7 separate regions of the Homo sapiens genome follow, and all the other regions are linked to region 6. Evidence: promoter capture Hi-C in 16 types of primary human blood cells and fetal thymus (Javierre and others, 2016). All regions are on one chromosome and are shown on one strand. The core of a region is centred on a gene start or on the middle of the fragment in contact, and the rest is flanking DNA. Distances in the headings are between cores, read along the strand shown. Region 1 overlaps RPGRIP1 (RPGR interacting protein 1). Region 2 holds the start of RNASE7 (ribonuclease A family member 7). Region 3 overlaps HNRNPC (heterogeneous nuclear ribonucleoprotein C). Region 4 holds the start of SUPT16H (SPT16 homolog, facilitates chromatin remodeling subunit). Region 5 overlaps ARHGEF40 (Rho guanine nucleotide exchange factor 40). Region 6 holds the start of PIP4P1 (phosphatidylinositol-4,5-bisphosphate 4-phosphatase 1). Region 7 has its middle 5.8 kb from the start of TMEM253.

What was found. The method cuts DNA at HindIII sites, captures the fragments that hold promoters and counts their contacts. A CHiCAGO score of 5 or more calls a contact.
Region 1: a fragment that was not itself captured here is called in contact with the fragment with the promoter of PIP4P1 in region 6 in 1 of 17 cell types (monocytes); the score reaches 6.0 in monocytes.
Region 2: the fragment with the promoter of RNASE7 here is called in contact with the fragment with the promoter of PIP4P1 in region 6 in 1 of 17 cell types (M2 macrophages); the score reaches 5.0 in M2 macrophages.
Region 3: a fragment that was not itself captured here is called in contact with the fragment with the promoter of PIP4P1 in region 6 in 1 of 17 cell types (monocytes); the score reaches 5.8 in monocytes.
Region 4: a contact is called between the fragment with the promoter of SUPT16H here and the fragment with the promoter of PIP4P1 in region 6, in 1 of 17 cell types (monocytes). The highest score is 7.3, in monocytes.
Region 5: a contact is called between a fragment that was not itself captured here and the fragment with the promoter of PIP4P1 in region 6, in 1 of 17 cell types (neutrophils). The highest score is 7.3, in neutrophils.
Region 7: a fragment that was not itself captured here is called in contact with the fragment with the promoter of PIP4P1 in region 6 in 2 of 17 cell types (fetal thymus and monocytes); the score reaches 6.9 in fetal thymus.

Annotation. Positions count from the first base shown.
Region 1 is chr14:21,314,496-21,318,625 of GRCh38, reverse strand. It overlaps RPGRIP1 (RPGR interacting protein 1), which reads right to left. Exons shown (of 25, transcript NM_020366.4): 11 at 776-930. Among named protein-coding and RNA genes, the nearest start is that of RPGRIP1, 36 kb to the right of the region's middle. The HindIII fragment of the contact is 7,906 bases long and covers 1-4,130 here.
Region 2 is chr14:21,040,482-21,044,554 of GRCh38, reverse strand. It overlaps RNASE7 (ribonuclease A family member 7), which reads right to left and starts at 2,193. Exons shown (of 2, transcript NM_032572.4): 1 at 2,113-2,193; 2 at 322-1,602. The coding sequence starts at 1,562. The coding sequence ends at 1,092. It also overlaps a transcript of NDRG2 not described here. The HindIII fragment of the contact is 1,827 bases long and covers 558-2,384 here.
Region 3 is chr14:21,254,753-21,258,729 of GRCh38, reverse strand. All of the region lies in intron 2 of HNRNPC (heterogeneous nuclear ribonucleoprotein C), which reads left to right. Among named protein-coding and RNA genes, the nearest start is that of HNRNPC, 13 kb to the left of the region's middle. RefSeq lists an enhancer at 3,483-3,977. The HindIII fragment of the contact is 3,616 bases long and covers 1-3,101 here.
Region 4 is chr14:21,381,186-21,385,304 of GRCh38, reverse strand. It overlaps SUPT16H (SPT16 homolog, facilitates chromatin remodeling subunit), which reads left to right and starts at 1,286. Exons shown (of 26, transcript NM_007192.4): 1 at 1,286-1,443. The coding sequence starts at 1,378. It overlaps CHD8 (chromodomain helicase DNA binding protein 8), which reads left to right. Exons shown (of 38, transcript NM_001170629.2): 38 at 1-106. It overlaps LOC107984643 (a long non-coding RNA gene), which reads right to left and starts at 1,032. Exons shown (of 2, transcript XR_001750627.2): 1 at 592-1,032. The HindIII fragment of the contact is 3,293 bases long and covers 617-3,909 here.
Region 5 is chr14:21,072,853-21,076,806 of GRCh38, reverse strand. It overlaps ARHGEF40 (Rho guanine nucleotide exchange factor 40), which reads right to left. Exons shown (of 24, transcript NM_018071.5): 2 at 3,565-3,762; 3 at 1,627-2,875; 4 at 1,308-1,475; 5 at 1,042-1,162; 6 at 351-447; 7 at 164-244; 8 at 1-33. Among named protein-coding and RNA genes, the nearest start is that of ARHGEF40, 4.5 kb to the right of the region's middle. The HindIII fragment of the contact is 1,623 bases long and covers 1,807-3,429 here.
Region 6 is chr14:20,458,660-20,462,849 of GRCh38, reverse strand. It overlaps PIP4P1 (phosphatidylinositol-4,5-bisphosphate 4-phosphatase 1), which reads left to right and starts at 1,416. Exons shown (of 7, transcript NM_144568.4): 1 at 1,416-1,666; 2 at 2,005-2,195; 3 at 2,552-2,658; 4 at 3,117-3,222; 5 at 3,410-3,462; 6 at 3,554-3,644; 7 at 4,148-4,190. The coding sequence starts at 1,525. RefSeq lists enhancers at 752-831, 164-1,129, 1,132-1,201, 1,130-2,096 and silencers at 1,322-1,731, 1,792-1,961. The HindIII fragment of the contact is 6,669 bases long and covers 850-4,190 here.
Region 7 is chr14:21,104,872-21,108,837 of GRCh38, reverse strand. No RefSeq gene overlaps it. Among named protein-coding and RNA genes, the nearest start is that of TMEM253, 5.8 kb to the right of the region's middle. The HindIII fragment of the contact is 3,328 bases long and covers 494-3,821 here.

The DNA.
Region 1 (4,130 bases), core at 1,295-3,794, 850 kb before region 6:
TGGGCACCTGCAATCCCAGCAACTCGGGAGGCTGAGGCAGGAGAATCTCTTGAACCTGGGAGGCAGAGGTTGAAGTGAGCCCAGATCGCATCACTGTACTCCAGCCTGGGTGACAGAGTGAGACTCTCTCAGAAACAAAACCAAACCAAACCAAACAAAAGAAAACTTTCAATAAACTGAACGTTTAAAAAACATAATAAATTAAAAACTGGCAGGTCGGGCACAGTGGCGCACGCCTGTAATCCCAGCACTTTGGGAAGCTGAGGCTGGTGGATCATCTGAGGTCAGGAGTTCACGACCAGCCTAACTAACATGGTAAAACCCCATCTCTACTAAATACAAAAAAAAAAAAATAGCCAGGCGTGGTAGTGCATGCTTGTAATCCGAGCTACTTGGGAGGCTGAGATAGGAGAATCGCTTGTACCTGGGAGGTGAAGGTTGCAGTGAGCTGAAATCGTGCCATTGCACTCGAGCCTGAGCAACAAGAGCGAAACTCCACCTCAAAAACAAACAAACAAACAAACAAACAAAAACTAGCATCTTCTCAAATGGAAAGACATTATATAGGAAAAAGTATACATGAGAGGTAGGTAAGTGTCATGTTTTCCTGATTGTAGATCTGATCTATTGCTAGTGTTCTCATTCTAGTTACCTACAACCCACAAAAGAATAGGATCAAGTGAGGGGATTAAAGAAATGATGGCTCAAGTTATCTTCTCCCAAACCAGAGGTAGAGGATGCCACATTTGAGAGAGCTCTTCAAGGTCCAGCCTACCTTTCTCCCTGGACAGCTCAAGTAAAACTTTTCTCTTGTCCTCCAGCTCAGCATCCAGCTGATCCTGCAGCTGAGAGACTTGCTGCTGTAGCTGTTCCGCTATGAGCTCGTTGCTCCAGTGGGGCTGACTGGAGCTGTCACTGCTGTCCAGCATGCTGGCAATGGAAAGCAAGCTCTCAGATGGATACCCCAAGGGGTGTGATATGACGTCTTTATTATCCAGTTTCAGCATCTCCTGGACCTAGTTCCTCATTCTCTCCCCTACATGTTTTTTTCTGCCCTTGCTTTATTCATAACTGTCATTTACCAACTGCCTTGGAACTTTTGAGTCCTACTGAGTTATTGCTCAGTACCATTTCTGTTTAGGTCTCAGATATCTGACTGAGCAAACACCCCAAGTCATATCCATTTCCCAAGGAACTTCTCCACCATGATGGCTTTCTTTAGTCAGGGAACTATGTATCAAGACCTTCTCAGGCCTGCCGGATTAGAAATGAGGAACAAAATCTTCCTTTTCTCAAACCCCATGCCTCCATCTACCTTCACCAACGGTGAGTTTAGAGAATATTTGTCTTTGACCTAGATTATAAATTACTATGCTGAAGGGCGGGAATTAAACTTTTCAACAACTGTATCCTCCACCCTATTGTATCAAGCTGTCAGAGCAGACCCATTTTGAGTATAAAATACACATGGCTGGTTCCTTTTTTTTTCTTTTTTCTTTTTTTTTTGAGACAGAATCTCGAGCTGTCACCCAGGTTGGAGTGCAGGGGTGCAATCTTGGCTCACTGCAACCTCTGCCTCCCAGGTTCAAGCGATTCTCCTGCCTCAGCCTCCTGAGTAGCTGGGATTAAAGTAACCCACCACCAGGCCCAGCTAATTTTTGTATTTTTAATAGAGACGGGGTTTTACAATGTTGGCTGTGCTGGTCTTGAACTCCTGACCTCAGGTGATCCACCTGCCTCGGCCTCCCAAAGTGTTGGGATTATAGGTGTGAGCCACCATGCCCAGCCACATGGCTAGTTCTTGGTCATTCATACAAATGAAATGACACTAATAATCAAACAATTATTTCTTTTTATGTCTTATTTCTTATTTATCATTTTAGTAAATGTGGTTTAAAAATAATTTACCAGGCTGGGCACAGTGGCTCACGCCTGCAATCGCAACACTTTGGGAGGCCGAGGAGGGCAGATCATGAGGTCAGGACTTCGAGACCAGCCTGGCCAACATAGTGAAACCCTGTCTCTACTGAAAATACAAAAAGTTAGCTGGGTGTGGTGGCAGGTGCCTGTAATCCTAGCTACTTGGGAGGCTGAGGCTGGAGAATTGCTTGAACCCAGCAGGCGGACACTGCAGCGAGCTGAGATCGTGCCACTGCACACCAGCCCAGGTAACAGTGTGAGATTCCGTCTCAAGAAATAAATAAATAACTTACCGGCCAGGCTGGATGGTTCCCACCTGTAATCCCAGCACTTTGGGAGGTCAAGGTGGGCAGATTATCTGAGGTCAGGGGTTCGAGGCCAGCCTGGCCAACATGGTGAAACCCCATCTCCATTAAAAATACAAAAATTGGCTGGGCGCGGTGGCTCACACCTGTAATTCCAGTGCTTTGGGAGGCTGAGGCAGGCAGATCTCGAGGTCAGGAGTTGGTGATCAGCCTGCCCAACATGGTGAAACCCCGTCTCTACTAAAAATACAAAAAATTAACCAGGTGTGGTGGCCGGCACCTATAATCCCAGCTACTCAGGAGGCTGAGGCAGAAGAATAGCTTAAACATCGGGAGGCAGGGGTTGCAGTGAGCCGAGACTGCGCCACTGCACTCTCAGCCTGGGCAACAGAGTGAGACTTTGTCTCAAAAAAAAAAAAAAAAAAACCACAAAAATTAGCCAGGCATGGTGGCACACACCTGTGGTCACGGCTACTTGGGAGGCTGAGGAAGGAGAATCACTTGAACCTAGGAGGCAGAGGTTGCAGTGAGCCAAGATCACACCAGTGCACTCTACCCTGGGCAACAGAGTGAGACTCTGCCTCAAAAAAAAAATAATAATAATAATAATAATAACCTACTTAGGCAAGTATTAACATTTCTTGGCATTGCCTGACCATATATCATGTAAGGACTCAAGAAAATAGTATTTTGAGTGATGAAGGGGAGAGGCAAATAGTAATGTCTATCACAGAGTAATGTCTATCGAAGTGGATACTCCCCACACTGCTTTATTTCACTGAGCTGAAGAACATCAGTTGTTCCCAGATGCTCCCGTAAGACCTCCTCAATCTACCCCCTGCTGCCTTTTACTAGATCAAAGGTACTTTTAAGTTTTTTGTTTTTTTTTTTTTTGAGACGGAGTCTGGCTCTGTCGCCCAGGCTGGAGTGCAGTGGCGCGATCTCGGCTCACTGCAAGCTCCGCCTCCCGGATTCACGACATTGTCCTGCCTCAGCCTCCCGAGTAGCTGGGACTACAGGCACCTGCCACCACGCCTGGCTAATTTTTTGTATTTTTAGTAGAGACGGGGTTTCACCGTGTTAGCCAGGATGGTCTCGATCTCCTGACCTCGTGATCCACCCACCTCGGCCTCCCAAAGTGCTGGGATTACAGGCATGAGCCACCGCGCACAGCCTGGCACTTTTAAGTTTTAAAAACTTTTTTCTTTTACTTACAGGTTTTTTTTTTGTTTGAGAGTCTCACTTTCTCACTGCACTGCACTGCACATGGCTCAATGCAACCTTGACCTCCTAGGCTCAAACAATCCTCCTGCCTCAGCCTTCTGAGTATCTGGGAATACAGATGCACGCCACCATGCCCAGCCAAATTTTTTTTTTGAGACAGAGTCTTGCTCTGTTGCTCAGGCTGGAGTGCAGTGGTGCAATCTCAGCTCACTGCAACCTCCACCTCCCGGGTCCAAGCAATTCGCCCTGCCTCAGCCTCCCAAGTATCTGGGATTACAGGCCCCTGCCACCACGCCCAGCTAATTTTTTGTATTTTTAGTAGAGACAGTGTTTTGCAATGTTGCTCAGGCTGGTCTCACACTCCTGTGCTCAGGCAATCTGCCTGCCTTGGCCTCTCAAAGTGCTAGAAGTACAGGCATGAGCCACTGCGCCCAGCTGCCCGGCTATTTTTTTTTTTTTTTTCGAGACAGAGTTTTGCTCTTGTTGCCCAGGCTGGAGTGTAATGGCCTGATCTCAGCTCACCCCAACCTCTGCCTCCTGGGTTCAAGTGATTCTCCGCGCCTGGCTGGCTAATTTTTAAAATAATTTGTGGAGAAGGGGTTTCATCATGTTGCCCAGGCTGGTCGTGAACTCCTGAGCTCCAGCGATCCTCCTGCCTCAGCCTCCCAAAGTGCTGGGATT
Region 2 (4,073 bases), core at 944-3,443, 580 kb before region 6:
CAGAGTGGAGAGCCAGGGTAGCAATGAGGCAGGGGAGATCATTATCAGGAGGAAGGAAGCTCTGGCAGCTCCCACCAGCCTGTTTGTGACAAGCAGGCTCAGGGCCACGGAAGTCCCTTAAGGTCAAAGGAAATGTGATCCTGGATCTGGGGGATGAAGCTCAGACACTCCCTTTACCTTATGTCTTCAGGCCAAGGGGATCTGGCCAGAGCCAGGTCCAGGGCCTAGGTTGGAAGAGCAGTGGTCTAGAGAAACGGGAGGGGCAGTTAGAGAGGAAGAGAGAGAAGGAATAAAATGCCAGAGCACCTCATAAACAATCTCTTGGCTAGAGAGGTAATGACCTTTATTGCAGCCAACACAGGGTAACTGGCTCTTCAGAGCACTCGTTTCTTCATGAGTGAACTCTTACCTAGTTCACCGCTTGCCTCTGTAACAGTGACTTCTTTCTTGCGCAACTGGTAGAGTAGAAGGTACACTGTATTTAGAGCAAGGAGACCTAGGTTCAAGTCCAGGTTCTGCTACTAACTAATTAGACAAGCTCTTTAATTCATTAAGCTTTCTAAAACCTTAATTTCCTCATCCATAAAGAAGGCATACAATCCCTGTCAAGTCTATGTCACAAGGGATTAGAGGATTCTATACAAATATGAAGTGGTATTTATTTATATTTTTCTTTCCTTCAGGTCACCTCACTGCCACGTCAGAGCTGGGGAAGACTTCTAGTTCAGGAACAGAAACAGCTGTGTCCACAAATCCCATATGCCCCCTTTCCATTTATTTCCTCTCCTTGTCATGCTGCCCTAATGCCAGGGGGCAGGGGAGACATGTGCAATGGCATAGACCAGGGAACCCACAGACCTGAGCTTGCTGTTTCTTGGGGATAAGCATCTGGGAAAACAGCAACAAAAAGATGAAAAGCCATCCCTCTAGAGCTCAGCTCACCAGAGTGTCAGCTTCAGCCTCCCAGCAGAGGCTGAACCAGGAACAGCCCCAAGAGATGAGGGGAAGAGAATGCTCTGGGTGTAGGGGAGTGGTGCGGAGTCCTGGAGAGGGAATTGAAGGTCAGCCAAAGAGCAAGCCAGTCTGGAAACCTAAAGGACTCTGTCCAAGTGTACAGGAACCAGGTGGAATTGCTGAGAGTCCTTTTTCTGGGGAGGCTTACAGGCCACTACGTAAGACTTGTTCTGTCGCTTCTCTTTGTACCTGCAGTTCGGATGCTTCCCTGAGGTGAGCTTACACATGGTCAGGGACACGGCCCCGTGGCTCTGGTGGCAGTTTTTATCGCCATTCTTGCAGGCTATTTTGGGGGTCTGGCAGGTGGCGGCCACACTGGAGAAAGGCTCGTGCAGGAAGGTGTTGAGGTCTTTGCACCGTTTTGTGTGCTTGTTAATGTTTTTCATGGCTGAGTTGCATGCTTGAGGGCTGGGCTGCATGTGCTGAATTTTAAACCACTGTGATGAGGTCATGCCCTTGGGCTTGGCACTGACTGGGATCTCTGCCACCCACAGCCCCAGCAGCAGAAGCAGCAGAAGGGGGCAGAATCCTGCTCTGGCCGGTGCCATCTCTCTTAGGAGGAGCAGTCAGGATGGAGGGCAGGGGTCGCTGGGACAGAGGTGTTCAGTTGAGAAATTAGTCCTCTTATACCTGCTCATATGAGCTAGTCACCCATCTCCCTACTCGGTTGTCTCCTTTCCTCACTTTGTGTCTCATCTCTGCCTCTTCTTCTGTGTGTCCACATCCACTGCAGCCCCAACAACAACCCTGTGGCCCCATCTCTCATCTTGTATTTCTGTTCCCTTCATTCTGTCCCTGTTGCCTGTCACTCTTTGTCCTCTCCCCTTTCCCTTAAGTCTCATCCCTTTTGTGTCTCCATGTTCCTGTGTCTGTGTCTCATCCTCTCCCGATTCCCATCTCGTCTGTGTTCCCATTCTTTTTCATTTTTTGCCTCCATCCCCAACATCACTCTCCCCTTTCCCCAATGCGTGTCCTCATCTCCCCTAAATCCAGTCCCTCCTTTATCCATTTTATCGCTCACCTGAGTGTACTCTCAGGATCAGAACCCATCCCTCCTTCTCTGTCCTCACTCCTCCCCAGATCCTGCCACAGCCTCACCTTTGCGCTTGGTCTTCGTGCTGTGACTCCTGCTCAGTGGGCTGAGGTGGTGTCCACGCACTCCTAGGCTGTCAGATCTCTGAGGGCCTCTTCTCACTCCTGAACTCCTTAAGAGCTGGCCCGGGCTACGCTGTGTCTGTTTGGGGGTGGGCTGGGAGCATCACTGGATCAGGAAATGAATCAGGTTCATGCCTCTCCACTTACATGTCCCAAATACGTGGACACCTAAGGATGCCTGTACCTGCCTAAACATGTTCAGCAATGAGGAAGCTTGAATCGTCACATTCGAAGACTGTATTTGTTCCCTGGCCACATGATTTTAATGACTCTTTAATAGAGCACCTGACCCAGGTGTCAACTGAAATCAATTTCAGGAAGAGTTGTCATTCATATCCTCTCATATACACTTCTGGCCCTTGATCCTGGGAAGAGTCAATCACTGTGGTGTTAAGGGTTGCTTCTTCTCTGACCTGAGGCACAGATAGGACAGCCTAGAAAGATGCTTTGTCTGGTTCCTTGTCATCTGGAGATACTGGTTATCTTTCGGAGGAGATGGAACAGACACGAGGGAAGTGGGTGAATGAATCATCACTGTCACGAGGCCTGGCACCATCCCCAATAGCGAAGCCATTCCACAATGATTCACAGGCCTCTCCAGTTCCAGGTACCAACCAAGGCCACATGGCTTTAGCTGGAGAAGGCAGCCAACACCTCTCAATTTCACTTGTTCCCTCCCTTTTTTATTGAAAATTGCAAAAATTTAATACTGCCCAAATGTTTGTGTTTAAAATGCTGTTGCTGCTCTCGACATCCTGCCTTAGTGCTTCCTTCACCTTGTATGTCCTGTTCCTTGTGGTGGTTACAGCTGTGTGGAGCATCTGGGTCAGTGCTACTCCAAGCTCTTGTGAGCTTGGAATATGACACTCAGGAGAACCGAGACACCAAGGCAGAGAAGCATCACCCTCTGTGGGTGAGAAGGCCTGTAAAACTGAGATGAGGAATATTTTTGTTTTCAGAATTTACCTGTAAGTAGTAGGCAATCTCAGAATCTTGGGCATGCTTCATTCATGTGGTCAACAAACATTTATCGAGCATCTACTAAGTGTCAAGATACTTGGGATATATCACTGAACAAAAAAGGCAAAAATGGCCAGGTACGGTGGCCCACACCTGTAATCCTAGCACTTTGGGAGGCCATGGCAGGAGGATTGCCTAAGGCCACGAATTCAAGACCAGCCTGGGCAATGTGGCGAAACCCTGTCTCTATAAAAAATTTGAAAAATTAGCCAGGCATGGTGGTGCATGCCTGTGGTCCCAGCTACTCCAGAGGCTGAGGAGGGAGGATTGCTTGAGCTTGAGAGATAAAATCTGCAGTGAAAATCATGATTGCACCACTGCACTCCAGCCTGGGTCACAGAGTGAGACCCTGTCTCAAAAAACAAACAAACAAACAAACAAACAACAACAAAAAACAAAGACAAAAGTCCCTGCCTTTGTAGAGCTTACATTCCATTGGAGAAAGACAGTAAAAAAAAATACGTATACTTTGCTCAAAGTGATAATGGCTAGGGAAAAAAGTAGAACAGTATAGGGGTTGGTGGTCAGTAATTTTACGTAACATCGTTGAAATCGCTGACTCTGGGGCAGAGACTTGAAGATAAGAGTGAACTTGTGATTATCCGGAGGAAGAATGTTCCAAGTGAAGAGACTAGCACTGCAAAAGCCCCAGAGCAGACAGATGCCTGAGGTGTTGGAGGAACAGCAGTGTGTCCAGTGTGGCTGGAGCAGGTAACTGAGAGTTCAGAGAGGGACCAGAGACCAGGTCATTGGGAAGACTTACGGACCATTTGAAGGCCTGTGGCTTTTACTCCAAGCACAGTAGGGAACCCTGGAAGGGTTCTAAGTAGATGAATAAAGAACGTGTCAGCTTAAAGGATTACCTGGCTGTTGTGTGGATTATA
Region 3 (3,977 bases), core at 44-2,543, 800 kb before region 6:
ACCTTGTTGGGTCATATAATGGCTTTCTGATTTGGCAGAAAAAAGTAGCAGGACATTAATTTATGGAAGTATTCTAAACACTTGACTATGTCCAACACTGTTAAAGTTGTGAGTTTGTGTTAACTTAATCATCATCAAAACCTTGAGTAGGAGTAGATACTGTTATTCATGTTTTAGAGGTGAGAATATTGGAGTACAGAATTTAAATAACTTGCCTAAAGTTAAACTGCTTTAGTGGTTTAGCATGGATTCAACCCTGGGATTAAGGGTGCAGATTTCAACACTTAATGATAGTAGACTCCTTTCGTCACTTTGATATGTTGAACTTTTTTTTTTTTTTGAGACATAGTCTCGCTCTGTCACCAGGCTGGAGTGCAGTGGCATGATCTCTGGCTCACTGCAACCTCCGCCTCCTGGGTTCAAGCGATTCTTGTGCCTCCGCCTCCTGAGTAGCTGGGATTGCAGGCATGCACCACCACACCCAGCTAATTTTTATATTTTAGTAGAGATGGGGTTTCACCATGTTGGCCAGGCTGGTCTAGAAATCCTGACCTCGTGATCCGCCCACCTCGATTTCCCAAAGTGCTGGGATTACAGGCGTGAGCCACTGTGTCCGGCTGAGCATTCTAGAAAAACAGATTTTAGTTTGGTTAAAGTTCCAAAGAACAACTTTGGACTTTTATTATTAAAATTTTAAAACTAAATATGTTTATATTTTTGCCCTTGATTTCCCAACACCTTAAATGGCTTAAAGATGTGTATATGTGCAAGGTAGTTAATGTTTAGGTAGATGTATCTTGGTAAAATGTTACCATGGTTGTGATGGCATTGTTAATAGGGAAGCAAGCACATTTTAAAAGTGAGCTTTAGGCCAGTTGCAGCAGTTTATGCCTATAATCCCAGCACTTTGGGAGGCTGAAGTTGGAGGATAGCTTAAGGCCAGGAAAGTCTGGCAACATAGCAAGAGCCTGTCTACAAAAAGCTGGGCACGGTGGCACACAGCTGTAGTGTAGCTCCCTGGGAGGCTGAGGCGGTAGAATTAATTGAGTTCAGGAGTTTGAGGTCAGTGTGAGTTATGATTGCGCCACTGTACTCCAGCCTGGGTGACAAGAGTGAGACCCTATCTCTTAAAGTAAAAAAACAAAAGTGAGCTATCTTTTTTTTTTTTCTAAGACTTATAAAACCGAAGTGAACTTCAGTTAGAAAAAAATTATTTGTGGTTAAAAAAGAACCACGGAGACGGATGCATTAACTAAGCCCAGGGGTCCTTTTTCAATCCTCATCTCACTTGACCTGTTGGTTCCATTTAACCAGATCTCTTCCTTGAAACGTTTTTATTTTTTTTTTACTTTGCTTCCAGGTTTTTGTTACATGTTTCTGTTACATGTTAAACTTCTTTCTGTTGGAGTGCCCCATGGTTCAGTCCTTCCACTTCTCTTTTCTGTCCACACTCTGGGTCCAATTTCATTCAGATTCATTCATGATGTAATATACCACCTATAAGCTGATTTCGACACTTAAGATCAACAGCCTATACTTTTCTTTCGAATGTCATACCAATTCAGTTTACCTGCATGACAACTCTGTTGAATATCCAATATGTCAACTTAAAAGTGCAAAACTGTGCTCCTGATGTTCATGCCTCAAACCAGTCTCTTGTGTACTGTTGCCTTTTTCAGTTAATGAAACAATTTTTGTGTCTCTTGGGCCAAAGATTTTGGCTAGCCATCCTTGACTTTTACTCTTCTCACCTTTGGCCTATTAGAAAATCATGTTGGCCAGGTGTGGTAGCTCAGGCCTGTAATCCCAGCACTTTGGGAGGCTGAGGGAGGCGCATCGCTTGAGCTCAGGGGTTTGAGACCGGCCTGGGCAACATGGTGAAACCCTGTCTCTTCAAAAATATACAAAAATTAGCCAGGAGTGGTGGCAAGTGTCTGTAGTCCCAGCTACTTGAGAGACAGGCATGAGAATCGCTTGAGCCCAGGAAGCAGAGGTTGCAGTGAGCCGAGATCGCACCCGCACCATTGCACTCCAGCCTGGGTGACAGAGCAAGACCCTATCACAAAAAAAAGAAAGGAAAAAATGCTGTCAGCTCTTCAAAATATACCACTACTCATACTGTCGACACTTGGTCCAATTTCAAGCCACCCTTGTCTCCTGTGCATTATTATATATAATAGGTTTGTATTTCTTTTGTCCCTCCCCACTAGTTTTGTTCTTAAAAGTGATAGCTAGATTGATCCTAAAATGTATTGTTTGAAGGATTTTTTTTTTGGGGGGGAGATGGAGTTTTGCTCTCTTTGCCCAGGCTGTAGTGCAGTGGTGCGAGCTCGGCTCACCGCAACCTCTGCCTCCCGGGTTCAAGCAGTTCTCCTGCCTCAGCCTTCCAAGTAGCTGGGATTACAGGCACCAGCCACCAAGCCCAGCTAATTTGTTTTTTATTTTTAGTAGAGACAGGGTTGCACCATGTTGGCCAGGATAGTCTCGATTTCTTGACCTTGTGATCTGCCCGTCTCTGCCTCCCCAAAGTGCTGGGATTACAGGCGTGATCCACCACGCCTGGCCATTGAAAAATGTTTTGCCTGAAAACAAACAACCTAATGGCTGCCTTTTTCAGCATTGAAGTCAAAAATTTTTCTGTGATTTACAGGGCATCCCACGTGATTTGTTGTGTCCCTTCCCTTGCTGTTAATATACTGTGCTTCAGCCACACTGGCCTTCTTAACTGTATTGAACACATTGGATATGTTTCCACTTTAGGGCTTTTCCTTGGAATTTTCTCTGACTCATACAGTTTGGTTCCTCAGTTCCTCTGAGACTTTTTACTCAGAAGCTACCCCCTTAGTGATGTGTCTTCCCTTATTTAGCGCTTTAAGCTCCCCTTCTCCTAAATACTCTTTAGCACTTATCACCAACTGTAGAATTTGTTTTTTTCTATGTAAAGACATAAGAGATATGTCCAGAAATACATATGCCAAACAATTAACATTGATTGCCTCTGGGCAAGAAGTGGGATTTAGGAGATTTGAAACTTGTGTACTATGTGCTTAAGACTATTATAATGATCAATGTGGTAGTATTTTCCTTCTAATTAAAAAGCTTAAAAATGTACATCAACTCTTGTGATTCTGTGTGGGCATAAATAGCATAGCTAGTCTGTGTAATAGGGGTTTAGTAAGCAGTGTTAATAGTTGAAGAAACTGCTTTAAAAGGTTTAGCTGTGATAGAGTCGAGTTAGCATTTGAGCACATAGACTACCGTGTTGCCTGTATCAACATTTGGGAGAGCTTGACCATTTTAAAAATATGTATTCTCTACTGAGAAAGCATGGCTATTTGTAAGAGGTAGAGTGAATTAGAGAACTTTTTTTTTATTATTTCTACCTAATCTGATTCTGACTTTACCAGTCTGAAATATTCTTCCTGTTTTCTAATTATATTGACCTATGGCTCCTGAGTTGATTTTAAAACTGAAAAAACTCCAGGAGTTCATTGAACCAGATTTAGGCTTTTCTGGCTAGTCTTGAATAACATTTAGGAGTTTAGTAGAGTACATTTTGAACAAAAATTTTCCTCCAGTCCTCTAACTAAAATAGGTATTCTGAAGAGGATAAACTATTCATAATGCATTGTCACTCCCTATATTGATCCTTTAAATAAAATCTTCACATAAGTGGGTTTTCTAGCTTCAGAGCGAGAAGAAAAGTTTTCTCATGCTATTACCCTTAAGTTTGTGGAATTCATGCTAGAGTTATGGCTATGCTGTTTAAAATGGAGTTTTTCTGGTTTTTTTTTTTGTTTTTTTTTTGAGACTAGAGTCTCGCTCTGTTGCCCAGGCTGGAGTGCAATGGCACGATCTTGGCTCACCGCAACCTCCGCCTACCGCAACCTCCGCCTCCCGGATTCAAGTGATTCTCCTGCCTCAGCTTCCCGAGTAGCTGGGATTACAGGCGCCTGCCACCACGCCTGGCTAATTTT
Region 4 (4,119 bases), core at 37-2,536, 920 kb before region 6:
CTAGCCTCTGGCAGAGCCTGTTCCTGGCCGAACTGTGGATACAGCTGGAGGGTCAGGAACTGTTACCTTCTTTCCCCTTGGCATTAATAAATTTAAGTTAATCCTTTTCCACTCTTCCTTTGTTCTATGTTTGCTCAAACCCAGTGTATTGATTTTGAGTTGTTAATGGTGGGTAATTTCAGCACCACTTTCCTTAAGTTCAATACTGTTTATACTAAATTGCCTTACAGCAGACAAGTCATCTGTACTCCTCTAAAGGGTATATACAAATGTAGACTGTCCAGCTGGCTAAAGGCAAGGGAATTATTTAAGGTAAATGGTAGGTAGGCAAACTTCTGGATTCAAACTCCAAGTTTTTAGAAGAGACAGGGAGCAAGAATGTCATCAGGAACCATTTATGTTTTGTTTCTAATTAACTGAAGTAACGGTTATTTGGGGGAAGCCATAGAATAGTGCCAGTTTTCATGAACTGCAGCAAGGGGACTGGCCGACTGGAAGGATGCTGCCGCGACTTGGGCTCAGGGGGTGGGGTTGTGGGAAGGAACTAAAAGTTTGTAGAGCCCCTCAAGTCATCTGTTTCCTCTGACTTACACCATCCCACTGCTCAGTTAAAGCTTGCGCATATTATTTTCCTTTCGAAAACTAGGTTCCTCCCCCAGCTTGGGTCGTAGTTTATCACGAGGCTGGGCTCCATTTCCCTGGTATGAGTCCTCTGTCCCGGCGGAGCGCTTGACCCAGCATCCTGGCACCGAGGATCCCTCGAGTCCTGGAGCAGTCAAGGGCTTTTGCATTCCCATCATTTCTAGGAGGGGCGCATGCCCAGTTACACTGTAGTAGTCCCACTTTTATCCCACGCTAGATCCCGCTCTTTCCGCTCCCCCTTCCTTTGCAGATGGGGTGGAGCTATAACACCCGCGCGCGGCAGCTCTTGTGGGCGGGGCAGGCGCCGCCTCCTTCGCTTCGTCTAGGGACTGCCGCCTCGGCAAAAAGTCTGAGGTCCTGGAAACCGCCGCTGGGCTGAGAGTTAATAAGGGCGGAGGCAGACCGTCACGTGACGACGTCGATTCGCGTGCGGCAGTGGCGAAGTTGACAAACCCCGCGAAAATCGACTCTTTGCATCGCACATTTTGTTGATTTTCCCTCGTTTTTCTTTCTCTCTTTCCCCCGTCCATCCGAAAGAGGGTTGGAAAAAAACAAAACAAACAAACAAACAAAAAAAAAACCTAACGCTGTTGGGACCCGGAAGCGGAAAGGGCATCTTTGAGGTCGATACTTCCGGGTCATTGGGAGAGTGCGGGATTCCTGGGCCGAGAGCGGGTGGCTGAGCCGGGACCTCGCGTGATTCTCGGAACCCGAGGAGAAGCGGCGTCCGGGGCTATGGCTGTGACTCTGGACAAAGACGCTTATTATCGGCGAGTGAAGAGACTGTACAGCAATTGGCGGGTGAGGAAGATCCTGTAATTTTTCCTAGGGAGCCCCCTTAGCCATCCCATAATAACCCTGTTTCTCGGCGCCCTTTTTTCTCTTTCGGTCAGGAATTCCCGGGTTCTGTGCCTCACCCTTTTCGTTGCTCCCGAATCATTCACCGGAGGCGGCCACGAACGCTGCCCCTTAACAGGGAATCCCCCGCATTCACCCTGTCCTGCGGCCATCACCATCTTCCCCGCGTGCCAGCCTTGGTCATGCATAGCAGCACCTCTCGCAGTCTCTTCCCGCCCTAGAAGAGGCAACATCCTTCCCTCCTACTCCGTGGTCACGTCTTGCTGCCCTCCCCTGCCGTGTTCTCACGCACTCGCTCTGTCCCTCCAGAACCACAATATTCCACCCCTGGTCCCGCCAGGATTATAACCGTCTTCGTAAAGGAGAGATGGAAGGGCAAGGAGGATGTCAATCGGGCTTTTAGCGTTTATCGTTTGCGGGGCTTTTGCTGGAGTTAAAAAAAGAAATACTGCTCACGCGCAACCGCCTCATGTTCTAGGCCCTGCTGTGGGTTACAGAGAGGGACCTAACGCTGAAAGCCTGCAGGCATTAGTAATAACAAAACAAAACAAAACGATGCCTAAAACCTTATTAGTTCCTTGGTAGCGTATCCGGGGCACGTGTTCATTAAAAGAGCTGTGGCAGTTCCCAGTTTTTTAAAGATTCGGCAGTTTTGCTGCTCTAAAAACGTCCACAGTTAAAACTTATTTTTATGATGTTAACTTACTAATTGAGCAAACATTTGGTTGCATTCTGTGATGCAGTCTGAGTTGGCTAGCTTAAGTCTTGCCCCTGAACCCTGTCATCAAGGGAAGATACAGCTAATAAAGATTTTTTTTTAACCTGAAAAACGTTTTGAGAAAAATGATCAGCTCTCATTTCAGCATTGTAAATTATCTTTCAAACTGGTCATCTACTAAAACCAAGCCATTAAAATTGGTCGTTTCCTTGCCATTCATATTAAAGCTGTCTGTGCATGTTTCATCTTTTGGGGCTAAATACATTAGATAATTGAAAATAAAATTGATTCTCTTGCATTTTATGAAAAGGAAAAATAAGAACTAAATGCTAGATGAATACTGAACATTTTATTTTTTTTAATTTTTTGATTAATTTCTACCAAATGATTTTTTGCAGCTTCTCTCAGTGTCATATTATTCAAACATAATCGATGTTAGAAAAACATTTTAAAACCTTGATACTTTCTAATGATCAGTAAGTACTAAAAATCCGAAGCCCTCTCTTGTACCCATAAACCCTGAAACTGTGAACCTTTGGTATGAAAATTGTTTCTAGTCCCAGTGATTCAGATTCATCAAATAATTTCATTCTCTCTATACCATTCATGAAAACTAATCTATAGCTCTCACTTCCTCTACATGACAAATTAACTGTGGCCTGAAGACAGGTTGGCAAACCTAATAAAACTGATAGTCTTTAAATCCATGAAAGTTATTTCCCACCCACCATTTTTTTTTGTATCTCAAAAATCTTTAAAGTTTATCTTGGCCCTCTTACTACCTTAATGACATCATCTTGGGAGAATGTTAGATATTGATAAGACACTGATGGTGTAAAGTTATGAGCCAAATCTATGTAAAAATGTACCAGTTAACAAAACCTGTGGCTATTATGAAAAACTTACTTGAATAAGACTTTCTGCTTTTGTGTTAATGTGTCCAGAACCCACCTGTAGAAGTTCTTTGTGTATGCAGTCTTTTCACCCTACAGTGCTTTCATTCTGATACACTTAATCAGAGATAGTAGTTTTCTGGGTTAAATCTAGTCGCTTATCCTCCTGGATATAGCAGAAAGATAGTGGGATATATAGGTGTGTTGTATAACTTTTCTCTTTTACACCTTTTCCTTTTTTTAATAAGAAAACTGGGATTGAAATAGAATAAGTTGAAGTTAATGGTAAAAATTCCAAACCTGGCTGGGCACCGTGACTCATGCCTGTACCCAGCACATGAGGCCAGGAGTTAAAGACCAGCCTGGGCAAGATGATGAGACCCCCGTCTCTACAAAAAAAAAAAAAAGGCAAATAAATTAACCAGGCATGGTGGTGTGTGCCTATAGTCCTAGCTACTTGTGATGCTGAGGCAGAAGGATCCCTTGAGCCCAGGAGTTTGAGGCTGCAGTGAGCTGTAATCGCATCACTGCACTCCAGCCTGGATGAGACCCCGTCTTTAAAAAATAAATTAAAAAAAAAAAAAATAAATCCCAAGCCTTTTGCTTTCAGCTTCCATCTTAAAAAAAAAAACTGTTATGACTAAAATTAACTAAAAAATGATTTGGGCTCCAAACCCACTTTTAATTTTAAATACTCTTGATTATAAGCCCTTAAAAGCTGTAGTGGTTGAACCTGGTAGTTCCAGCAGTCCAAATACAAGTACACAGGGTTGTAGAGAACTGATAGGCTACTAAGCTTTTTCTTCCCTTTTTTAAAAATAAGAATAGGAATTAACCTTACCTATCTGCAAGTTAATTTTCAGTTAGGTACATATTTTGAGGCTATTGCAAATAAAATATTTTTTAATTATAATTTTCATAACTTATGTCCTAAAAACAATTGTAGTTACCATGTACTTTTAACTGAATAGAAATTTCAAAAATATTAAGCCCTGTATCTAAGTAAAT
Region 5 (3,954 bases), core at 1,369-3,868, 610 kb before region 6:
TTTCAGATCATTCTCTGACAGCACCTCAGCACCCTGTAGAGGGTAAGGCAGGGGGTTTCTTCCTGGGCACCCAAGGACTCAGAAACCAGCCTGGGGCTCCAGCCAGCCTCTTCTCCTCTCCCCACTACTGATGGGAAACTAGATGGGAATGAAGGGCTCAAACCTGAAATCCACAGAGTTCAGTTGGAAGGTCATCATGAATGAGAATCAGCAGCCGCTGAACAAGGGGAGGATCTCCTGAGTCCTAAGGGCAGAAAAGAATAACCCTAAACTGGGCAATCGGGTGTCCTGGACTGGCCACTGGTGAAGAGTTAGGATCCAGGGGAACTGCCTGTTTGAGGGGTGGTTACCTGAAGTTGGCTCAAGGCAGGAATGAGTGCTGGAGGCAGTGGAGGTGCCTGACGAAGGTCCAGCAGGACGGACAGCCCCAGTGTCTGTAGATCAGGCCTGCGGGAGCAGGAAGAGCCAAGGAGGCTGCTGTGTGTGTGTTTTGGGGGATAGCAGATAAGGCAAGGCAGACATACGGGGTCTGTTTTTAGTTAATAGTCCTGAGGAGAAATTAGTTGCCGGTACATTTGGGAAGAAATGGGCAAAGGGCCAAATTCTGGGGTGTGTGTACAAGAGGAAGTCACCTAGCAGTCAGGGGTCTATATTCATATGGCTACTAGGTCAAGGGATTAAGGTCTGGAAAATTAAGAATTCTGTTCTGAAATGGCGTGCATTCAATATCAGCCTGTAGTATGGTGCCTAATAGGTACTCAGTGCTCAATAAATGTTTGTTGAATCAGTGAACCAATGTCCTGATGATCTTGGTAGGGTTGGAAGAGAGTGAAAGTCAACAGTGTTGCTTTTGAAGATCAGTGAAGATATGAAGCTGGAGGTCAGGGTAAGTAAGGCCAAAGGTCAATGGCTTGAAGTCTGAAGGTTGAAGAAGTAGGTGTCCTTAGAGGTCAGAAGGTCAGTGTCCTGAGAAGAAGGAGGTGAGGGTCCTCATGAATCAGGAGGTTAGTGTCCAGGGTGCCAGGACTGGGCCTCGGTTACCTGAGCAGTGAGTGGAGGTAATGAAGAGTTGTGTTCAGCGTGTCTCGGGAGGGTGGGGGCTCCTCAGGAGGGCACGGTGGGGTAATGGTCAGCAGAGCTCGCCCACTCTGGTCCACCCCTCCTGAAGACACAAAATGGCCAGGCTGTCCTGGCTGGGAGCAGTCCATGCCTACCTCCTTTCCACCCTGCCTCCCCCAGTCCCCAAGCCCACCCAATTGCTTCTCTTTCCCAGTCCTGTTTCCCTTCACCCACTGATGCCCACTGACCCGTCAGGATGAGGAATCCAGATGCCATCAAGTCCCAAGCTACATCAGGGTGATCAGAGACGGAGACTGCAAGGGCCTCTTCTGGAATGTTGTCCCCTTTTCCTTCCTGCACAGTCTCCAGCGGAGGTGTTGGAGTGTCAGACAGGGGGCCTTCTGGGCCTGTGTGTCCTGCACAGACACAGACAGAAACATGGGACTGAAGTTAAGATGGTTCTGGTTGTTCTGCTCCCAGCCTAACCCTGCTCCTCCTCCTGCCCCCTCCCATAGGCCCGACCTGCTTTGGCCCTTGCCCCATGAGCCTCACTCCGTGTCATCTCACCTGCCATACACAGCAGGCCTGGCCCCTCCAGCTCTCTCTCTCCGGCCCCCTCTTCTGTAGGCCCACAGGCTTCAGAGAGCTGAGGCTCTTTCTCGCCTGCTGTTTTGAGCTCTTTTGGCTCAGATTCTGGCTTCCCTGAGCCTTCATATTCCTCCTTAACCAGGTGGCATTCTGGAAGCTTGTGCTCACTTGGTGAGGGCAGATTGCCAAGGGCTTCTTGGTGGCTGGCATCTTCCTTGTCCCCAGGGCTCAGTGGGGCACTGTCCCCTCCTCGGCTAAGAGCCCCTCGACCTGCAGCTCGCTTCTTTCTTCTGTTTCCTTTGCCTGTTCTCCGAGGGGTACCAGGTGGTCCTTCAGCCCCCTGGCCTCCTCCTCCTCCTCCTCTAAGCTCCCCTGGCCTCAGGGGGCAAGATCCGGAGGCTTCTCCCACAGCCTCTGCTGGGGGCTCAGACACCTCCAAGACTGCTGCCTCTGGGACAGCCTCAGCTCCTGGGGGAGACTCAGGGGAGGCTCCGGTGCTGCTCCCCTCGCCGGGTGGGCGTGCTCCATCCTGGCCCCGAGGCCCCAGGCCCTTCTGGTGCATCCACGCCCGGTGTCTCCGGTGGCGGCCCTTCCCTCCAGCGCCCTTGCGGGTGGGTACCGTCCGGACTCTGGAGAGGCCTGGGGAGCCTTCAGCATCTGTTGGGCTCCCCCTCACGGGCAGCGTCACCTCTAACAGCTCCACATACTCGCCCTCAGGTCCTTCCACAGGGGCATTGTGCCCATCCCCAGGACTCCGGGTACCCAGCGCCTCCTCAGGAAGTGGAGGGCTGGGAAGCCCTGGAGGTCCAGAGGGCAGTTCTGGGGGCAGTGTACTTGGCTGATGTCCAACCATGAGGCCCTCTTTGTGCACAAATCGTGGACAGATGAGCTCAGCCCAGGGCAGCCGCTGAATCCCAGAGGGCGCAGACAGTAGGCAGGTACTGAGGCGACCTGTTGGCCGGTCCTTGTTGATGCCTTGTAGCCACTCAGGTGTGAATAGGTAGGCACAAGCCTCATTGGGCACAGGAACCTCCTGCACCCGCCCACCCCCAGGGGCCAGACACTTGAGTGCTAGTCGGGGTGCTTGGGCAGCTGAGGGCACCACCTGCAGATAGAAGTCTCCTGGGCGCAGCAGTTGCCAGGGTAGGGCTGCTAGCTGCACCACCACCTGTTCATGCAGGCAGAGCGGCCACCCCTCATGGAAGAAGAGGAATCCACTGTATTGGGCCTGGGGAGAGAGGTGGGAGGCTGCACTCAGGCCTCTGCTGAAGAAACCAGCAGGAGAGGGCAGTTAGAATGGGCCCACCCTAGGCAGGACCAGCCTTATGCCTGGAAGGTTATACTCTCAGGAGAGCAGGAGGGGAGATTTGGGGTATTCAGGTGGCAGAGAGGAAGGGATTGGGACTGATCGGTCTCCCAGTAGTAGGAAGATTCTTCAGGAAGCTAGTTCCATGTGTGGGAGGGTAAGAACTGAATCGTTACCAAGACATGGTCAGCAGATGCCATTGTCTTGGAGAAGCTAAAGACTCTTAGGAGTCTTTATATCTGTAGAAATGAATGATCTCTGTTGACTAATGTACGGGGGAGTTAGTGTCTTGAGAAATTCATATGAGGGGGAGAAGATGTCTGGAATTGGGTCTGGAGAGTTAGGGTCTTTGGGGGTCAGTATTGGGGTCAAGATGAATTTGGGGAAGATGAATGTGTGTGTGTGTGTGTGTGTTAGCATCTGAATGGTCAGTGCCTGTGAAGGTCAAAGTTTGTGAGAGGTCAGAGAATGAAGCTTAAGTGATTCTGGAGAGATCGGTTTCAAGGGAGGCTGTATCTCTAGGTTAGTGGGGGCATTAGTCAGCCTGGCTAGTCTGTAGAGTGTGGCAGTGGATCTTGGGGAAGGCAGAATAGTGATGCACGGCCACTCACACAGGCTTCCTGCTGGACCTTGGCAAGCAGGTGCTTGGCTGGTACCAGGAAGTCCAGCGTGTACCTCAGTGCGTCCTCCCGATAAGTCCTCTCCACCACCTGGAACACCTGGCCCAACAGGGTGGGGGCTGTTGCCTCAAAGGGTGGATACAGGGCGGCGAGAGTGCTCTGCACACAGTCCTCCACTGGCTCAGGCTCCTGTAGAGATAGGACCAGGCTACAGATCCCTAGAGATCACCCAATCATGGCTCCTTGGGAGCTGCACTGGTCTGGGGTTGGCTGTGTTCTCCAAAGCCCCGATTGTACAATGTGGGCAAAAAGTGAGCACTCAGGAAATGCTGGCTGATGAGCCCAGAACAGGAGTGGGGCTGGGCCAGAGTGCACAAACCT
Region 6 (4,190 bases), core at 167-2,666:
CCAGCCCCTGTAGCAGCCAAGTGCTGGGACATCTGCAGTTCCTTTGTTATTACATATTTGGGGCTGGCTGTACTTTCTTTGATGCACTTCCTTTCTTAGTGGAGAGTCTGCTAGCCAAACTGATAATGGACCTCCTCGGGGTTTATTGTTTTTATCAATTCCTTGTTGCTTCCCATATTTAAAGCAGTCCCAGTTTGGGCTATGACTTGGGAAAAAATCCAGGTGTGGTTCAGGCGCCCATAAAGACCACACGAGACTTCAGGTAGGGGAGGAGGCACTGCCCCTTTGCTGGAAGCAAAGTTGAGACAGGCCTAAAGACTGTCCCATCTGTCAAATAAGGTGACGAAAATAACCTTGTATTTGATTAATCCAATCTACAAACTTGTGCGTATGTTAAAGGTTGGTGGTCATAAAACTGAGTAAAGGCACGGTGGCTTGTCCCTGTAGTCCCAGCTACTGGGAAGGCTTAGGCAGGAGATCAAACTCAGGAGTTTGAGTCCAGCATAGGCAAGACCCCATCTCTATTGAATTTTTTTTTTTTTTTTTTTAGTAAAACGATGAAATCTTCTAGTAGTGGAGACACTAATGAAAAGATAATTTAACAATTTGATCAGCAATGGGGAAAGACGGGGCTCTGTAAGGACAGCTTCCAGGAAAACCCAGTCTTGTGTCCTGTCCTGAAAGTGACTCTAGCGACAAAGGCTGGAGTGATAATCTTAACTTTTTAATCCATTTCCTTCTGGTACCTCATTACTCTGACTTTTTAAAGGTACTTCTTTGAGTAGAACAGCTAACTTTGTCTACTGTTCCCCACCGTCCATTTTCTCCCCGCTCAGAAGATCCCAAGCTTCCGCACTCCTTTATTGCACCCGCCCAGCCTCCTTTAAAATGCATAAGCCACGCCCCCCATGTTCTGGCGCTAAGTTCGGGCCAATGCAGTTGCGCCGCTAGGATCACAGGACGAAAGAAGTAAAGTCACCAGCCAATAGGAAACCAGCTACAACGCAAAGCCGGAGAAAAGTGTTTTAGTGGTGTCTTTGAACCAATGAGGAGCAGAGCAACAGGGACCGTGCAGCTTCCAGAAACACGTGACCAGTTGAGCAGACGCAGCCTAGCCCTACCTCCTGGTCTGGAGGTAGCGCGATGGGCGTCGCTCCCAATAGCTTGCAGAACCTCTAGTCACGTGCAGGTTTTGCAAGCCCAGCAGCATCTGGCAGGTCATGTGACAGTTGACGTTTGTGCGTCGCTCCCCAATGGAAAAGGAGAGCTGCCTTCACAGGACCAGGAATTGGTTTATCTACGCGAATAATAGCATGACCCGGGCGGGGATAGCCTATCACGTGCTGCTAGACGGAACGGGGCGGGGCAGGCCACTGGTTGCGGAGTGAGCTGGGCGCGCGGCGCGCAGGCGCCCTGGGGACCCGGTAGCGGCGGTGGCGGTGGCGGCGGTGGCGGTGGCTGCGGCGACGGCAGAGGCGAAGGGAGCCGGATCGCCGACCTGAGCGGGAGGCGGCGGTGGCGGCCATGGCGGCAGATGGAGAGCGTTCCCCGCTGCTGTCTGAGCCCATCGACGGTGGCGCGGGCGGCAACGGTTTAGTGGGGCCCGGCGGGAGTGGGGCTGGGCCCGGGGGAGGCCTGACCCCCTCCGCACCACCGTACGGAGCCGGTAAACATGCCCCGCCCCAGGGTAAGCCGGGGCGGGTCCGAGGTGCTCCCCGGGGTACTCTGAAAGCCGGGGAGGGGGCGGGACCGAGGGCGGAGGCGGGTCCCAGTCGCCAGGTGCGGGACTGCTGCACCTGTGACTGGGCGAGGCTTCCTTCCCTCCGTAATCGCGACCACAGCCTAGGGACGGAAGGGGGTTCTGAGCAACCTGATAGAAGTGCCAATTATGAGAAGCCCTCCGAGCTTGGTCAGAGGGTTGAAGATCAGAAGGACTTCCCTACCACCGTGGAGCATCAGTGGGGGTGTAAGTGATCCCAGCCCTTCTATTTGCTTCCTCTCCAGCATTTCCCCCGTTTCCCGAGGGGCATCCAGCCGTGTTGCCTGGGGAGGACCCACCCCCCTATTCACCCTTAACTAGCCCGGACAGTGGGAGTGCCCCTATGATCACCTGCCGAGTCTGCCAATCTCTCATCAACGTGGAAGGCAAGATGCATCAGCATGTAGTCAAATGTGGTGTCTGCAATGAAGCCACCGTGAGTTACACATATCTATGAAATGGGCCCTGTTTCCTGGATCCTCTTTCTGATGTCTTGGTTCTAGACCCTGACCTTCCGGCTATTAGCCAAGTGCTTTTGATGATACCCAGGTTTCAGTTCCAGGTGTCTCACACAGCCATTTCCCCAGAAGCCACTCACCAAAGCTAATGTTCACTTTCTCTCACTTTTACACCTAGCCTAGTTCCTATTTGCAAATCTCATGATATAGTCTTTCTTTTATTTCTCCTTCCTGGTTAGCACCTTATTTTTCTGATCTCATAAAGTGTTTTTGGAGGGAAGTGGAGGGGATTGGGATTAGAGGTTTGCTTGCTGATGACCCTATTATTCTCTAGCCAATCAAGAATGCACCCCCAGGGAAAAAATATGTTCGATGCCCCTGTAACTGTCTCCTTATCTGCAAAGTGACATCCCAACGGATTGCATGCCCTCGGCCCTACTGGTAAGAGGCATAAGGTGGGGAAGGGCCTAAGTGGGGAACTGGAAAGTCAAAAAAGGATGAGCGTATACAGAGAATGTAAAGGTGAGAGAGCCTAGTGTTTATTTAGGAGAAAAGGCTTTGAAGCATGTGCCTCAGGAATGTTATAGCTGTCTTTCTCGTTTCTCAATAAAAATATTGAGATGAAATGATGTCGTTTCGGAGAATAGAGAGCCTTGGGGACTGGGTGTGTTATCCTGAGGTCGGAGGGGAATTGGGGACCTGAAGTTTAAACAGTGCTCTTTCTTTCTCAAGGATTCTTGAGGGTATACAGTTGGGGGACAGAGTATCTTAAGTACAGAGAAGTCGAGTGACTTAATAGACAGGGAGTGGGGGATGTGGAACAGGGACTGTGAAGATTTTTAGGATTAAAAATTTTTCAAACACAAGTTTGAAAATACAAGTCTTTTTCTTTTGTATAGCAAAAGAATCATCAACCTGGGGCCTGTGCATCCCGGACCTCTGAGTCCAGAACCCCAACCCATGGGTGTCAGGGTTATCTGTGGACATTGCAAGAATACTTTTCTGGTGAGGAAGGGGTATTGGGAAGGGGAGGGGAAAGGAGACTAAGAGTCATTTCGAGTATATTTCTTAGAGTAATGGTAATGACCCCTGAAAGGTCTGTCCTATGGGAACATGTTCTGCATCCCCACCCCAAGGTTCTCATTGAGGGAGACCCTGCTTGTGCTATTATTTTTGTTTTCTTTCTCCATAGTGGACAGAGTTCACAGACCGCACTTTGGCACGTTGTCCTCACTGCAGGAAAGTGTAAGTGATTAGGGATTGAGCTGGTAATTGATGTATGGAGTAAAAACTACAAGGCCATAGAAAGCATCCATTTCTATTTGCCTCCCCACAGGTCATCTATTGGGCGCAGATACCCACGTAAGAGATGTATCTGCTGCTTCTTGCTTGGCTTGCTTTTGGCAGTCACTGCCACTGGCCTTGCCGTGAGTACCCTTGCCCCAACCTCTTTCATTCTGCAGCCTCATCTCCATAGGCTAAGATTTGGGAAACTGCTACCCTAAAAAAAAGTGGAAGAAACTTGGGGGACTAGTTTGTTTTGTTTTAAGATATGGATGAGCTAAAGTGCAAAGTGGCTGATCAAACAGACTTTATTACTACTACAAGAGTGAAAAACAGCCTTCCTTTCTCTGTAGGATGAGGATAGGACAGTGAAATTCTTAATTTAAGAGTTGCTATTTTTCAAACCTGGCTCAGTTGTCAGATATTAAGAAAAACTGAGATACAGTGTGGGATGGGATGAGTATGTTACGCCTAAGGGAAGGAAGCTGATCAGCTCTGCCTTTAAGAAGGTCCCTGAGGGTGGCTACATGTGGATAAGGAACAAGGACTGAAGCGTGAGTTATTACTGTTCTTAGAACTAATAGGAGGTAGTGGAGACCAACATTAACCCCATCTTTCTTTTCTTCTCCCTCCTTATCTTCATCAGTTTGGCACATGGAAGCATGCACGGCGATATGGAGGCATCTATG
Region 7 (3,966 bases), core at 908-3,407, 650 kb before region 6:
ACATAAAGAATAAGAGTGGGCCGGGCGCGGTGGTTCATGCCTATAATTCCAGCACTTTGGGAGGCTTGGTTGGGTGGATTGCTTGAGCTCAGGAGTTGGAGACCAGCCTGGGCAACATGGTGAAACCTCTTCTCTACAAAAAATACAAAAATTAACCAGATGTAGTGGCATACATCTGTAGTCCCAGCTACTTGGGAGGCTGAACTGGGAAGACGGCTTGAGCCCAGGACGCGGAGGTTGTGAGCCAAGGTCGCGCTACTGCACTCCAGCCTGGGGCAACAGAGCCAGACCCTCTCTCCAAAAAGGAATAAGAGCGAGCACATAGCATTTTCTTTATATATAAAGAGAGCATATAACGAGGCAAAGCAAATAAAATTATATTTTAGTAGTTTGGACTTGGGTAAAAACAAGAAAACTTTATGGATGGCAAGGGAAAACTGTCAAGAATCAACAAAGAAAATTCATTAACTCTGGACAGAAATTAGGAAAAGCTTCTGATAAGAAAAATAAACCAAAGATTCAGATGCTAAGTGGAACCAAGAAAAGTAGGCAACACAAAATATAAATGAAATAAGTCAGAAAAAAAAATAGGCAAACAAGGAAAAACATAAAAGAAACAGAAGATGATAGTAAATGGCACCTGAATTTTAAGGAGAAGCCAGCCTAGTAGCAATTTACCTGTAAGTATGGCTGTCTCTGGCCTGAGGCCGTAGGAAATTATATGAGCAGGCCTTTCCTTCTGAATTATTATAATGGGGACATCAGGTTAAAGCAAACACCAAAAGCAGTCTTCTTCTTCTTCCACCTCCTCCTCCTTTCCTTTCTCCTTCCCCTCCTCCTCTCTTCCTCCTCCTTTTTTTTTGAGAAGGCTGGGATTAGGGGTTATGGGAGCTGGGTGGAGTCAGGAGAGGGGGCTAACAACTAGGGGAAAGTTGTATGAATTTGTTAGCAATGGGAAGATTTTAACTATATAGGTATATATATAGTTATATATATATACATATGTGTGTGTGTGTGTGTGTGTGTGTATACACACATGTTATCACAATGAAAAAAATAGCAACTAAAAACATTTTCCTGCCTTCCCTCCTGTGCTCACTGCTTAGTCACCAGCAGCAGCAGCCCAGGTCAGGGCAGTATCTCACATTCCCAGTTCCCTGGAGATGGACCTCTGATCACTGTAGTACATAGATCCTGTCATATTTATAGGAAACACAGTGACTCAGTGAGAACACCACTGCCACTGTCCCGCCAGCCCATTAATCAAATGTCAAATTTGAGGCAGCACTGGCTGGGCCCGCCAGGATGAAGGGTGTGGACGCAGAGCAACACACCCTTCTGTTTTCTTGTCTAGACCCATTTTGTGTGGGCCTAGAATCCAGAAACCTGTTGGGAGACTCTTCATTTCTTACTGAAATTAAGAGCATCCCAGTCCCAGGTGGCAAGGGGCAAGAGACTGCATTCTTCAGGCCAGGCAGGCGCGGTCAGCTTCAATTACCCCTGGGTAGTTGGGTTCACTGAATTTGGTGGCTCCTGGCCAGGACTGCATAACAGACACAGAGGCCCAAGGGTTTGCAGAAGACCAGGAGGGGCCCTCCGCCTCCTGCCTCATTGTGAGGCCCAGGTTTCCAGCCAGGCCGAGTGTGCTGCTGCCCTCAGGGGCCCATTGCAGAGGAGGAACTTGGGGAGCGCCCCACACCATGGAGAGGAGAGTCTTTCCCCAACTAAGCCACTGCCAAATGCCATTACCTTAGGAAAGGCACTTTGTGAGACCTCAACCTGGGCAGCCAAGAGGCCACGAGATGGCAGCAGAGGACACAGCCCTGGACACAAAACCTGAGCCATCTTGCCAAAAGGCAGATTCAGAAACGGAAAAGAGTTCATTTGTGAAATACTGTCAGTTGTCTATGATCACGTATTAAAAGCCAGAATAAATGACAGAATTTCAAAGAAATGAGGGTAAAATGTATTCACATGGAGAATTTCCCGACCACCAATGTGCCACAGCTGCATATGAAGCCACATATCATGAACTGGATTTCTTTAATGTTTAAAAGAATAGATAGGGGTCACGGCCTTTAAAAACTGACGTCAGCAGAAACCTTGTCAGTTTCTTCTTTCAGTGAAGTTCCCATTCAAGTAAAATGAGTGACCTCCACAGAGGCTGCCAAACTGATGAAGAAAGAGGCAGATACAGTGGTTGCTGGGAATCACTGCAGCAAAGCAGAACGCTGTCATGGAGCAGCCCGGGACTGTGGCAATAGGCAGTGTGGAGGGGGAATAATGAGGAACACAGGACAAGTCTCCAATAGTCTTTGCTTGCAGCTGGCAGAGGATAATGCACAGGAAAGCGGCATTAGCAGCACTGGAACTAAATCCCAAATCTGACTTCTCATCTACTGCGCCTTCCATTGTTACATATTCCCTCCTCCCCCACTCCTCAGTTGTGACTAACAAATATGTCTCCAGACCTTGCAAAATATCCTCTGGGGAACGAAATGACCTTTCTCTGAGAACCAATGCCCTAGAGGGATATGATGAAAAAGGTTTTATCAGAAAGGTTTTAAGAATTTAATATTTAATCGAAGACTCTTGGACTTTGCAAGGTCTACATGAACTGTAACATATATCCAAAACCTGAATTCCTACTATGTTTATCTAATGCAGACTGATGATTGAAGAACTATAGCTGAACTGGCTCTTGAGTTTTAAGAAATTATCATTTAAACTACTTCTTACCTCTACAGGCAATTTATTTTTAACCCCTGAAGTGGTTTATAGTTTTAAAGTACTTTTCCTTGTGTGATTTTATTTTAGCCTTGATACTCCAGTAAGGTAGACAGAATAAATATTACCATAACCTCCAAGTGCACAAAATGTAGTTCAGAGAGGTTTGACTTGCCCAAGCAACAAAATTAGAATCTAGGTTTCCTGAGTCCCAGTCCTATTATTTTTTTGAGGAAAAATTTCTAGTAAGAACTTAGGGGTTCATGAAACCAAACCAAAGAAGTAGGTATGGGCATAACTGCTGGAACAGATAAATTTCAACTGCTAAGCTGTTCAAAAATCATCACAAATTATTAATTCCATTTCTTTTTTTCTTTTTGAGACAGAGTCTCGCTTTGTCTCCCAGGCTGGAGTGCAGTGGTGCGATCTTGGCTCACTGCAACCTCTGCCTCCTGGGTTCAAGCAATTCTCCTGCCTCAAACTCCCGAGTAGCTGGGATTACGGGCACCCACCACCATGCCGGCCTAATTTTTGCATTTTTAATAGACACGGCCACCATGTTGGTCAAGCTGGTCTCGAACTCCTGACCTCAGGTGATCCACCCGTCTTGGTCTCCCAAAGTGCTGGGATTACAGGCCTGAACCACCGAGCCCGCCCAACTATGTTTCTTTTAATGAAGTATTTCTGCTTCCCCTCTCCTTGCAGGCATTGCCCTTCTGGCCTTCCTTAAGTTGGGTGTGGCTATATGACTTGCTTTGGCCATTGAATGGGTGGAAGTGACATGAATGTATCACTTCAGGGCAGCATTTAAGAGTCCATGAACAATTCTTCATGCTTACTTCACATTCTGAGGCGGGGGGCGCGGGGCGGGTAACCTTAACCTTCATAGGGACAGGGTAGGATCTCAAAATGGTGGCGCTCCATGAGCTTGGGAGGAAACATTTGCAATGAACAGAATCCCTTGCCAGCCTACTTTGGACACGTAGTATGAGAAATAAACCTTTGTGGTCTTAAGCCACTGTGATTTGGCATTTACCACAGCAGAGCCTAGCTTAATCTGACTGATAGAGGTTAATTTCCATGGTCATCAAGCTTCTCTGGAACTAGAATGCAATATCTAATCTGATCACATCACTAAAACCTGGAAAACAGAACAAATTGTTAATTTTCTTCCCTCAGCTTCCTCATCTACCACCACCTTCTGACTTTCAAGAAAAATATTGTTTCATCGGCCCTGCA